Linked DNA regions of Homo sapiens: regions 1, 3 and 4 are each linked to region 2. The links are contacts of gene promoters, found by promoter capture Hi-C in human tissues and cell types (Jung and others, 2019). All regions are on one chromosome and are shown on one strand. Each heading gives the region's core, a stretch centred on a gene start or on the middle of the fragment in contact. The rest is flanking DNA. Distances are from core to core; before and after follow the strand shown.

The links. The method cuts DNA at HindIII sites, captures the fragments that hold promoters and counts their contacts. A contact is called where the count stands out against the background at its distance.
Region 1: a fragment that was not itself captured here is called in contact with the fragment with the promoter of SKIL in region 2 in 1 of the 25 tissues and cell types used here (hippocampus).
Region 3: a fragment that was not itself captured here is called in contact with the fragment with the promoter of SKIL in region 2 in 1 of the 25 tissues and cell types used here (aorta).
Region 4: a fragment that was not itself captured here is called in contact with the fragment with the promoter of SKIL in region 2 in 1 of the 25 tissues and cell types used here (hippocampus).

Annotation. Positions count from the first base shown.
Region 1 is chr3:170,728,354-170,731,370 of GRCh38, forward strand. It overlaps SLC7A14-AS1 (SLC7A14 antisense RNA 1), which reads left to right. Exons shown (of 6, transcript NR_135556.1): 5 at 1,003-1,342. The region is part of intron 1 of LOC124906302 (a long non-coding RNA gene); the gene reads right to left. Among named protein-coding and RNA genes, the nearest start is that of RPL22L1, 140 kb to the right of the region's middle. RefSeq lists a silencer at 1,847-2,141. The HindIII fragment of the contact is 5,722 bases long and covers 1-3,017 here.
Region 2 is chr3:170,356,089-170,359,146 of GRCh38, forward strand. SKIL (SKI like proto-oncogene) reads left to right here and starts at 1,627. Exons shown (of 7, transcript NM_005414.5): 1 at 1,627-1,675. RefSeq lists an enhancer at 200-299 and silencers at 580-1,479, 1,640-1,869, 1,920-2,049, 2,140-2,209. The HindIII fragment of the contact is 15,648 bases long and covers 1-3,058 here.
Region 3 is chr3:170,757,750-170,760,856 of GRCh38, forward strand. No RefSeq gene overlaps it. Among named protein-coding and RNA genes, the nearest start is that of RPL22L1, 110 kb to the right of the region's middle. The HindIII fragment of the contact is 4,311 bases long and covers 1-3,107 here.
Region 4 is chr3:170,697,673-170,701,095 of GRCh38, forward strand. All of the region lies in intron 2 of SLC7A14-AS1 (SLC7A14 antisense RNA 1), which reads left to right. Among named protein-coding and RNA genes, the nearest start is that of SLC7A14, 110 kb to the left of the region's middle. The HindIII fragment of the contact is 3,977 bases long and covers 1-3,423 here.

The DNA.
Region 1 (3,017 bases), core at 477-2,976, 370 kb after region 2:
TCCTAGAACATGTCAGGCTTGCCTCAGGGCCTTTGCATGGGTTAGATCCTTTACCCTGAGATTTTATCACACAGGTTCCCCATGGCTCACTCCTTCTACTCCAGTGTCCCCTCAGTGAGGCCTTTCTTGACCCTCTGCCTTGACACGAAATCCTATCTCTCCCACCCTGGCGCTCCCTTTTCTTCTTGCCCTATTTTATTTTTCTTCATCGTACTTAATCATTATTTGATTTGCTACATCTTGTTATTTGTTTATTCCCCTCTCTCCTCACTATACCGTAAGCTTGGTGAGAAAGGATATTGTGTTCACGGCTGTATTTCCAGAACCTTGAATAGTGCCTGGTACAGAGTAGGTACTCAGGAAATATTTGGTGAATGAATGAATTAATGAGTGAATGAATTCAAAATAATGAACACCTATGGCCATTACTGCTGTTTCAGAGAAGGTAGAGTATCACAGACTGGAGTCAGAGAAGGCTTTGATGAGCTGGTAAGTCCAGGCACTATAGGATGAATGGGCTTTTGAACAGGGTTAGGAAAAAGCATTCATGTGAGGGAGGATGTTAAAAAGCTGAAGAAAAAGAACTCCAACAACATTTATTGAGCACTTACTACATGTCAAATACTTTACATTCATTATCTCATATTATCCTCATAATGACTATAATAGAGAGGTATTATTATTTCCATGTGAGAAATGAGGAAACTATGTTTTAGAGATTTTTTTAAAAGCAGCTTTCCCATAAAACCTTTAGTTAGTAAGTTGTAAGCCATTCTTGTAATTGAGTTTTAGCTGACTCCAGGCCCATTTTCTTTCTCTTTTTATATCTTATCATCATTATCATCACCATTCCTAATACTATTTAAGTCTCTGTACTCTCCACCTGGCATGCTCCCTCCCATACTACCTGAATGGTGACCTTTGGTAGTGCTCAACTCAGTGATACATAAATAATATAAATAATAACAAAATGTATTCTCAATTTTTTCTCATCAACCCCAGGAAGGTTAAGCCTCCTTGAACTTACTTAAATTGGTGGCAGCACGAGCTTTCAGCATCATGGCCAGCATGACCAAGCCATTTCCCTGGTGTTCCCCTCAGCATGAAACATCTGTCTACTTATTTCTTTGCTGAGCCTGAATGGAATATTCCATCTCTGAAAAATAAACTTTGTGTTTAAATTGAAATCTTTATTCCTATCTGGCAAATTGGCTATATATCCTCAACAATTGGAAGGAAGTGATGTATCTGCTGCCATCAGCTACAAAGCACTGGACGCCCACTGTGCTATTTATTAGATTTACATGAATTCCAGGTGAATCTGATCCAGTGGCTACAAAAAGTGAGTATAAATTAATTGTTATTCTATTCCTCCAGAATGCCTGATATGGAAAAAGCAATTGAATCTGAGCACAGTTGGAAATTTAAAATGAAGTTTTGTTCGGCACTGAAATTCATGAGACTGCCAGAAAGGAGAGAAGGAAAAAATTTTTTTTTCTTCTCTCTTTTTTTTTTTTTTTACAAAATCCATTGCTTTTGATAATAAAGTAAAAAACATTTATTAGTCAACTTTGCTGGGGGCAACAAACAACCCTAAAATTTCGGTTACTTACAACAAAGGTTTACTTTTTATCACGTTACATGTTAGTTATAGGTCATTGTGGGGTCAACTGTGGGGCTGCTCCATGGATAACATTCATTCCAGAACTCAGCTGGAGGAGCAGCTCCTCTATGGAATAAGCCATTCTGGTGGCAAAGGGAAAAAAGCTAGAGAGCTGTTGTCAACAGGGAGTGGCCTGAAGGCATCTGTTCACAGGTCACATGAGTGAGTCCCATGTCAGTGGGGCAGAAATGTGTACTCCTCTCATGGTGGGCACTAACAGTCCAATGGCAATGACTGGAGATGTGTAATTCTCTCACAGGAAGGAAAAGTGAAGCACTGGGAAGCATAATAAAAATCTACAGCACACTCCTTATCTTAGCGTAAAACACAGCTGGCCTCGTCTCCCACCATTCCTTATCTTGTCTGTGCTCTGGCCACATTGAATGGTCTCCTTTCTCCCTAAACACATGATGCCACACTTTCATGTCTGTTTCCTATGCTGGAAATGAAATTCCCTTCATTTTCTGCCAAACAGAGTGGCTCTCTGCCTGCAAGGTCCAGTTCACATTCTGCCTACTTTATAAAGCCTTTCCCAACTCTCCAGTTGAAATTAAGCACTCCTCCTTTGGAGCAAATGGGGCAGACTGGCTGTACATCCAGCTCTAATTCAATCTTACTTGGTCAGTCTGGTAACTTCCTTGGTAAGTTCTTTATTGGTAAGTCTGGATAAAAAGCTACTGAAGGTTGGGAGGCCAAGGCGGGTGGATCACTTGAGGTCAGGAGTTCAAAACCAGCCTGGTGAACATGGTGAAACCCCATATCACTAAAAATACAAAACAATTAGCCGGGTGGTGACTGTGGCAGGGGCCCATAATCCCAGCTACTCTGGAGGCTGAGACAGGAGAATTGCTTAAACCCAGGAGCTGGAGGTTGCAGCAAGCTGAAATTGCACCACTGCATTCCAGCCTGGGCGACAGAACAAGTCTCCATCTTAAAAAAAAAAAAAAAAAGCTATGAAGGGCAGAGACTAGGGATTCCTTTTCCTGGGGCCCCTCTCCAGCCTCTTTGGGGTCAGAGTCTTGACCATAATACATGTTTAATAAACTCAATCGAATTACTAAAAATGTACATATTCACCATCAAGCTTACCCTTAGTGTGAAATTATAAGTCTTTTCTATAGCAGGCATATGCAGCAAACCATGTGGAGAAATCTGTTAGCACTCTTCTTCAGTCACAACAGTCGTGAAGATTATCCTCTTGGTTCTGCAATATAGACCCTACCCATTGTGTGTGTGTGTCTGTGTGTGAGATTCCTACCTTCCCACCAATAAAAGCATTTTGGATACCATGTTTTCACAGGAACACTGCTTCCCTTGCCAATGATAGCTGCTTTAAGAAGTGCTGTTTCTTTTC
Region 2 (3,058 bases), core at 377-2,876:
GAGGGGGCACGACCTGGGAGCTCGGCGGTGGAGGCCTAAGGAAGGGAACTTGGGTGGGGGTGCGGGGAGTGGTGGGGATTGAGAGGCTTGTGAGCCTTTCGGAGGCCTGTTGTGAGGAAAAAAAAAATAAAAAGTACGAGCACAAGAGTATTTCCAGCCGGCCGACTGCAAATGTGGGCCCCCACAGGAACAACCCGAAGCAGTAAAACTAGAAGAAATTGGACGAAAATGGGGGGGAAAAAAGGGACAAAGCTCGAGTCTCCTGAATTTTGTGCACTGCTACTCGGTGGACTATTTCAGTTCCTGATCTTGTGGTGGGGTGGAGAAAAGGGGATTTCTTGGTGTTTCGAAATGTGACGGAGCAGCTCTGCAGAGTTCAATATGCTAATCGGCTACCCTGGGAACCAGGAAGACCACCCTACACGCCTCAGAGGGTCACAGCCGGAAAGCTCTTGAGTCCTATCTTCCCTACCTCGTCTCGTCCCTCTCCAAAAAAACACACACACAAAAAAACACCCTCAGTAAACACTGTAAAAACCTTTAATTTATAGCTCCCTTCTGGAACCGAGAGAGCAGCCTGGTGGGGTGGAGGCAGGAGGCTGGGGAGTAGGGACAGAAATGTTTGCTCTCGGTTTTGCCGGAACTTTGGCCACCCCTCCCGCCCGGCCCGATGGCGGATGGAGGTCAGCCAGGGGAAGGCGTCTGGGTGGAGGCCGCCCGGGCGAGGCCGGGGCCGCCGGGGCGGGGCGGAGCGCCGGCAGCTGGCTGGGCGGCCCTCGGGCAGGAGGCCCCGCGGGGGCGAGGGGCAGCCCAGGAGGGAGGTCCCGCGGGGGCGGGGAGCAGAGCCGGCCCCGGGGGCCCTGCAGGGCGGCCGCCGCCCGGCTGCCTCCGGGGCGGGGCGGCCCAGCTGCGGCCCCGCAGGGGGAGGGTCGCCCGTGCCTGACCTCGGGCGGCGGCACTCTGCCGGGCGGGCACTGCCTCCGCCCTGCCGGCTGCTGGGGTCGCGCACAGTGCACCGCGCGGCTGCCCTGCCCCCTCTTCCCCGCTGCGCGGCGTCCGAGCGGCCAGGGCGCCCCCGCGTCTGGCCCATCACCACAGAGCGGCGGGTGGGGCGGGGGCGGGGCGGTGGCCCCAGACAGCCGGCTGGGCGACTAGAGGAAGGAAGGAGGGAGGGCGGCGGTGAGGGTGGGGTGGGGAGGGAACATCCTGTCTGCGCCGGGTGCACCGCAGACAGCGCCGCGCGCCAGCTTCCCAGACGGCGCGCGGGGCCAGAAGCGCCGGGCGCGCGCCTGGGGGGAGGGGCACGCGCGCGAGACGACGGGGCCAGGGGGGCGCTCTGAGGAGCCACAATAGGCCAGACGGCACGCGCGTCCACGAGGGGGCCGGGAGCCGCGAAGTGGCGGCGGCGGCGACGACGCCGGCGGGCCCGCGCGCGCGGCGCCGCCGCTGGCTCCGTTCCCTTCCCCTCCCCCTCCCCGCCGCCCTCGCTCTCCCCCGGGCGGCCGGAGACGGCGGCGGCGTCTGCGGGAAGCTGTGTGTCTCCGCAGTGACGTGGGCGGGCCGAGGACTCGGTGACGTCAGAGGGCTGTGTGTAGCGATGTGTGTGGGGTTCGGAGCCGCGCCGGCACAGCCGAAGGGAGCGGGCGAGCGGCGACGGCGGCGGCGGCGGGCACAGGTGCGGCTCCGGCTTACGGCGGCGACGCGGCGGAGGCGGCGGGAGGCCAGAGGCGCTCACCCTCCTAGGAGCCCGACGGCGGCGACAGGGGCGGTGGGGAATTCACAAAGCTCGTCGAGCTTACCCGGGCACCGAGGCCCGAGTAGGGGGTTTGGATGCGCGGGTCCCGGGTGGGGTCGGGGCCAGAGGGGGTCGCTAGGCGGGTGTTCCACGGCTGATCACGCTTCGTTGGCCCCAGGCGGTGGGCGCCGGCAGGGCAGGGCGCTGTAGTTGACGGGAGCCGCGGGGACCCCGGAGACCCGGACGCCCGTCACCGCCCCCCTCCCCCAGTCCAGCAGCGCTCCGCGGGGATGCCCTGGTCTCGACCCGGTCCGTCAGCCCCCGGCGGCGCAGGGATCCGCGCCCGGCGCCTAAACTGCCCTGGTGTCCTCTTCGTTCTGGCCCGGGGCTGGCGCGGGGAGGTGCAGCATTAGGGGCGCTGAGGTGACACCCGAGAACTTCCCAGGGAGAGGGTGCGCGGGGGGGTGGATTTCCACAGTCCTTCCCGCGGCCCCCGCGGGGGGGCGGTGTTGGGAGGGCACTTGGGGTTATCCCAGGCTCGCCGGTGGGGGTGGGGGGACTCCTCCCTTTACTTCCCTCCACCCCCTTGCACACCCACCCCCAGGCTTCCCGTGTCCCTTGTTCTCCCTCTCTCCGGGTTAGAGATAGGTGGGTGGCTTTGAGTGGGCGGAGGACTTCAGGGTTTTAGGGGCTCCCCCATTCTAGGTCATGCCTCTTGCTCTCTTCCTTGGCCTGTGTTGAGTAAGGTGTGTTCCTGTGGTGGACGAAAGTCTGTACGATGGTTGGTGGCATTGGTCCTTAATCCTTTGGGTCTGTTTTAAGGTAAAGTGCTGAGAGTTTGGGAAGCAAAAATTTCTATTTATTGGATTTCTTTTGGCTTTTCTCTCAAGAAGGAAGTGGAAAAAGAGTCTTTTCTTTTTCCCTCTTCCTCCATTTGCATTCTTTGTGAGGTTTGTCTGCCTTGTGCTTTTTGTCCCGGATTAGTCTTGTTGAAGGATGGAGATTCCCAGGCGTGGAGTCTATAGCTTTTGGCTTCCATTAAGTAAAATCGCTAACCTTTTTTTAAGAGAAAGTTAATTTTTGCCTGCAGTCATTCCAGAAAAATAGTGTACACGGACTAGCTGAATTAATCCACTTAAAATTGTAACTTAGTTACATATGGTAGATATGTTAACTCCTATCTGATTTTTTTGGATGAAACTGTTGTTTTGTTTTTAAATAGGAGATGAAGTAATGGATTTTTTTCCCTCCCTTAAAATGGCATAGCTGAGAAAGCCCCGGTACTACTAATTGAGATGATCTGCTTAAGAGTCTTCATATTCT
Region 3 (3,107 bases), core at 67-2,566, 400 kb after region 2:
AATAAAATAAATAGTTCCTTGTACTACATGAGCAGTGTATAATTGAACTGTGTATACAATGTACATGTGTATACAATGTGTATACAATGAACCGCTCGTAAGTGGAGGTAACAAAGCACTTATATTTGGTCTTTCAGGTACAAATCCCATATTTAGGCCTAAAGAAGCTTCAGGAGGTTTCCTGATACTCTGCTTCATATATCTCCTTGATCTAGCTTTTCTCCTATCTTTTATTGTTAATTTAGTTCAGCTTAGTTTTTAAATAGAAAAGTGATTCATGTTCACTAAAGAAAACGGTAATTTTTCAGAAAGAATAGAAACCTCCTTTAATTGCTTACGACTCAGAGGCAACCGCTTTACCATGTTTCCTTCTAATCTCTTTTAATACTTTTCTTATGCAATTGGCTGCATTTTCTTCACACATACAATGTTGTATCTGTTGTTAGTTAACATGCTGAGTGTTTTTGATGCCATTCAAATACTTCATAAGCATAACTTTTCATATCCACATAATATTCCGTCTTACAGATATGTGACTTATGTTTAGCTTCTGTCTATTGTCGTTCATTTACCATGTATATTTTCACTTCCAAACTGCCTTCTTTTATGCCTGAATATCTTGAAAATTGATTTTTTTCCTCACGTTTCCTCCTCCTTTTTTGCTCACTGACGTCTTTCTGATTTTCTCCCTCTCTTTATCCTGCTTCTCCCAGTCTCACCTTTATAAATTTACATTTATAACATGTTTTCCTAACATGAGTTTTGCATTTAAAAAGTGTTTTCTCACATTCATCACCTTATTTGGTGTCCACAATAACCCTCTGGAATAAGCAGGGGAAGTAGAAACTAAAATTCAGAGAAGTGATTTTCCCAAAGGCACTTAACCCAGATGACTCTTAATTCACTGTCTATACCAGACCACTCTATATGATGGTTCTTTTGGACATGTTTTTATTTTTATTCTTTATTTTTTGGACACATGTTCTTAAAAGCTACACAAGATTCATATAGGTTTAAAAAATAGCTTTTCATTGTTCATGTTTATAACATAGTTGATACATCTGGCATATAATAATCCTTATAGGTTCTACCAAAAGTTTAAAACATAAGGAATAATGAACTAATGGGCACCATCAAGCTCTGGCAAGGATCTCACAGGGGCATAAAATAGTTATGTGTGGTCTTTCACATCTTCTCAGCAGTTTCTCCAAATACTGCACTGCCTCAACATAGAATTCCCCACCATGCTTTTGAACTGACTCCACCCCCACCTTTTTTTTTTTTTTTTTTTTTGAGATGGAGTCCGCTCTGTTGCCCAGGCTGGAGTGCAGCGGCGCGATCTCAGCTCACTGCAAGCTCCGCCTCCCGGGTTCAAGCGATTCTCCTGCCTCAGCCTCCTGAGTAGCTGGGACTAAAGGTGTGCGCCACCACGCCCGGCTAATTTTTTTATTTTTAGTACAGACGGGGTTTCACCATGTTGGCCACAATAGTCTCAATCTCTTGACCTCGTGACCCGTCCGCCTCGGCCTCCCAAAGCGCTGGGATTACAGGTGTGAACCACCGTGCCCGGCTCACCCTTTTTTTTAAAGATAAACAAAATACTAATTTGCTAATGAGTATATTGGAGATTGTCTCCTGTGACCTCAGTCATATTAAATTCTCTCCCTGAAGGGGACTAATACTCCTCACAACCACCCCATTAGCCCTGTCTTCCCATGTTTAAAAATCAGCTTTGTTCAATTATGAGGTCAGGTTTCCCCTTTGTGCAGGTCTTCCTGAAACCAGCGGGCTTCCTGAGGAATGTGAAGAGAACCAGGTCACCTGGGATTTCTTCCTTCCTCAGAAGGTCTCCCCAAGTCAACATCGCCTCTGAATTTTCTATTTCCTTTTGGCAAATAAAAGAAAAAGTAAGTAAAACATCTTAGTCTATGCATGACCAAAGGTTAAACCTTTATTGCTTCATTTTGATTGTATCAGCTTTTCAGGACAATGTTTTCAAGGCCAGAGCTTATTTTAATAGCTGTAATAATACCAGTATTTTCTGATAATAATGGCAAACACTTTTTTTGGCAAGCACTTTTAGTGTTTGTTGTGGTTGTGTGCCAGGCATGGTTCTCAGCAGTTTTCACTAATTCATTTCATCTTCACAACAACCCTATAAGGTAAATTTTATTATCGCCCTTTCTACAGATTGGCAAATGAGGCACAAGTGGTTTGGCTTGCCCCTAAACTACATAGACAGCAAAAGACTGAGGGAGAATTTGGGGAAGACAGTCTTGCTCCAGTTCATGCTCTTATTCACGGCACTGTGCTGACCTCTCAGTCACCACGCTATTTACTTTACATACATTGTCTTATTTAATCTTCACACAGTGTATGTTTTATTATTTATCTCTATTTTACAGGTGAGGAATGAAGCTCAGTGGTGTTTAGCAGTTTGGCCAGATTCCACTCTGGCAAGCTCAGTGAGACAGAACCAATTTCCCTTTCTGTTTCTTTTAGTAGATAAAGCCATTGACCCAGCGATGAGGCAACTCAGAAAATGCTCAGAATACCAATCATAGGATCTCCCTAAAAATCAAGTGATGTGGTCAAGAAACAAAGCCTAAATAGAGCTTCTCTGCCACTCTGCTATGTGCTGCTGCATTTCTCCATAGAAATGTAACTTTCACCACCACCACACAAAGCTGAACCAGTTACCAGGGAGCTGGGAAGCAAGACAGATAGCAGGGAGACAGGGGAACACTTTAGGGTTAGGCCATTATTTTCAGATCAGGTAGAAGAGTAGAGATGGTTAGACACACTCAGAGATTCTTTGACTCTGACTTCAGGCAGGAAGTAAAATCCAGTCTAATCAGTTAATAAAAGGCATTCATCAAAGAGATTCAACCTCACACTGTTACTTCAACAGGCATCTTGCCCTTGTGGAAAAACAGGCTTAATTTCCAAATCATTTTAAGCTTGAATATTGGTGCAATGGGGAGCTTAATTTGGGAGGTAATGAGACCACCAAAGGAAATTAGAATGATTAACTGGGGCACAGTGAAAGCATGGAGCTGTTGGTAAAGGAAAATTGTATTTGTAGAGCTATGTGGTGGGGGGCAAGA
Region 4 (3,423 bases), core at 626-3,125, 340 kb after region 2:
TTTGTTCATCATTTCTCACTACCCCTTGTCCATGCTAAGACAATGAGGCTATTTCTTCTCCATCAACTCTGTGTTTCTCCCCAATAGACTGTTTTCTTAAACAGAACAGTGAAAATAATTATCAGCCTAGAATGACAGCCTAACATGTCCTTTCAGCATGCACCATGTGAAGAAGACAGGAAGTATGGGGCAAACAGGAAGAGTAGCATAATACAGGCCGGGCAGCATCTTGGGAAAACTGTCAGAAAGACCCACGTCTTATATCAAGGTCTTCTGTCAGCCCCCTGCCTTCTGTTGACCAAAAGGTTGGGTTCGTCCTGTGCTCTTCTCTGACACTCCCTCCTCTTCTATTTCATTCCAGGGCATTCAAGTCCAATGATTTGTTTTAGAAATGCTATCATTTGTTAGCTTAGCTTTTATCTCGGTTGGATGCCTTTCCTGTCTCACTGCTTTCCTTTCAAGGAGGCAGAGCCAACAGTTGACTGAGAGTTTTATTCAACACACCCCTGTTGTTAGATGAAGCTGGAGAAACTTTTATTAACAAGCTTACTCAGGACTTCAGCCATGGTGTAGGGTATGTGTCTGCCACCTGTGTCTGGCACCCTCTGAAGCCTGAATAAGAGATAAAGTGAGTGGAGCTTCTGTTTGGAATACCAGCCTGGTAAATAAACCCCAGCAGGTGGGGCCCAGAGGATGATTTGCTTTTGTCTGTGTGAAGCAATTGCCTTTATCCAGGTTGCTCTAAATGGTGATGCTAGAGACATTATGAGAACTCCGAGATTTTTGTGCTGCTCAGGCCTGTTTCTGGTGATGCAGAGTCCATCTTCCCAGGTGATATAGAATTCCTTATTGGGAATTCTGGGGACATGACCGATGAGGCAGAAACAAAAGGGAAGTCAGAAATACAGAGATGAGATGATGAGAAAGAAGTGCCTGCAAATAATTGGCAAAGAATAGAGCTGTGGGAAATATTGGTAATCATCATCATCAGCATTCTAAAACTTTATATTTGAGTAGTGCTTTATAATTTTTTAAACTTTATTTTTACAAATTAGTTTTGTAATTATTACTCACTCCTTATCACAAAACCTTGAGGGCTAGAACCCCTCAGGATGGGAGAGATCATGATATAAAGGCACTGATAATCTGTATATACTATAGAAGGCTGAGACCATCAGCCCAGGCTTATTATGGGTAAAAGGGTTATAAAGCAAGGGCTAAAAATGAAAACCTAAAACATTATAAGAACTGAAAGAAAATATAGAAAACAACCTTAGTATCTTGATGGAAAAAGAGGGCAGGTTTTGCTTATCAATTCACAAAAATCCAGAAGCCCTACAGGAGAAGACTAACAGATTTGACTACTCCAAGCTTTTTTAAAACATTGTTTTCTATTTTTCATGTATAAGGCTTTCTTCAGATATCTGTGGATCTTTGTCTATTTGCTCATGATTATAAATGGAGAAAAGAGCTGATTAGAAACTGTGTATCTGCATAGAGCTTATTTATTCCGAACATCACTGTTGGATAAACTGGGTAGGCCATTTATTAAGCAATTCCCACTGTCAGTATCTTAGGCCAGAAGTCCTAAGTAAGTCTCACTAGGCTAAAATTAAAATGCTGGCATGGTTTTATTGCTTTCTGGAGGCTGCGGGGGAAAAATTGTTTTCTTATCTTTTCCAGCTTCTAGAGGCTGTCTGTATTCCTTAGCTCCTGGCCCTTTCCTCCATCTTTAAAGCCAGCAACAGCCACTCAAGTCTTTCTCACATTGCGTCACTCTGACATTGGTTCTCCTCCCTCCCTCTTACACATTTAAGAACTCCCGTGACTGCACTGGGCTCACACAGATAATCCAGGTTCATGTCTCTCTCTAAAGTCAGCTGATTAGCCACTTTAACTGCCCTGTGCTATATAATCTACTATATTCACAATTCCAGGGCATAGCATGTAGACATCTTTGGGAGGTTTTTATTCTGCCCACCACAAGTGTATATATACTCATAGGTGTGTAAATATGTATTAGTCTGTTCTCACTCTGCTAATAAAGACATGCCTGAGACTGGGTAATTTATAAGGGAAAGAGGATTAATTGACTCACATTTCAGTATGGCTGGAAAGGCCTCAGGAAACTTACAATCATGGTGGAAGGGGAAACAAACAAGTCCTTTTTCACATGGTGGCAGGAGAGAGAATGAGAGAATAAAGGTGCAAGCCCGTTATAAAACCATCAGATCTCATGAGAACTTACTTACTCACTATCACGAGAATAGCATGGGGGAAACCACACTCATGATTCAATTACCTCCCACTGAGTCCCTCCCACGACACGTAGGGATTATGGGAACTACAATTCAAGATGAGATCTGGGTGGGGACACAGCCAATCCATATTAAAATGCATAGAAAAAGACTGGAAGTACATACGCCTAATTACATAATGAATTAAGTACCTAACAGTGGTTGCCTCTGAAGAGAAGGAATGGGAATTAGGAGAGAATTTAAAAAGAACTGTTATGGTTTACTTGAAAATTATCACATTTTCTTTGGAGTAACCTGAACCAAAGGATTTTAAATGTATTAATAAAAATATCATTAAATTGTAATTATTTACTTATATTTGTCACTTAAACATAATGTTGTACAATCTGTTTTCTTAGCCATTATATTAAATGGGTTCTTTTTTTTGTTTGCTTTGTTTTTTTGAGATGGAGTCTTACTCTGTCACACAGGCTGGATTGCAGTGGTGTGATCTCAGGTCATTGCAACCTCCGCCTCCCAGTTTCAAGTGATTCTTCTGCCTCAGCCTCCTGAGTAGCTGGGATTACAGGCATGCACCACCACGCCTGGATAATTTTTGTATTTTTTAGTAGAGATGGGGTTTTGCTATGTTGGCCAGGCTGGTCTCAAACTCCAGGCCTCAAGTGATCCAACTGCCTTGGCCTCCCAAAGTGCTGGGATCACAGGAGGTTCAATTATTGAGGTTAGCGCATAACTATGAATAAAAATAGGTTTTAAAGGTATAGCATATTCTATTTAATAAATATGCTTCTTTAATTTGTTGATGGTGACTGTAAAAGTGTGAAATGTATAGAGAACTGCCTTGTCTGCCTCTGAGAAGTGCAGTTGTGTCAGATGAAATAAGAGACATGTGTGATGTGAGGCCAACGTGAAAGTTTACAGAAAGTCAACACATTTCCTATCACATTCTTTTATCTTCACTATGGTTTGTTAGGGATCTCATTAGATGCTTCTATTTCATTAGTCTTTTGGCATTTCACTCTTTCTTGTTTCTGATATGTGTCCTTCTTTGTCTTCATAGTGTTAGTTTCATTTTGTCCATTAGCCCATTTGTTTCTCACTTAAGCATTTCTTCTTTGGCGTTTTAACTATTTTCATATTCCTTAAGTTATTTAGACTTGATTAA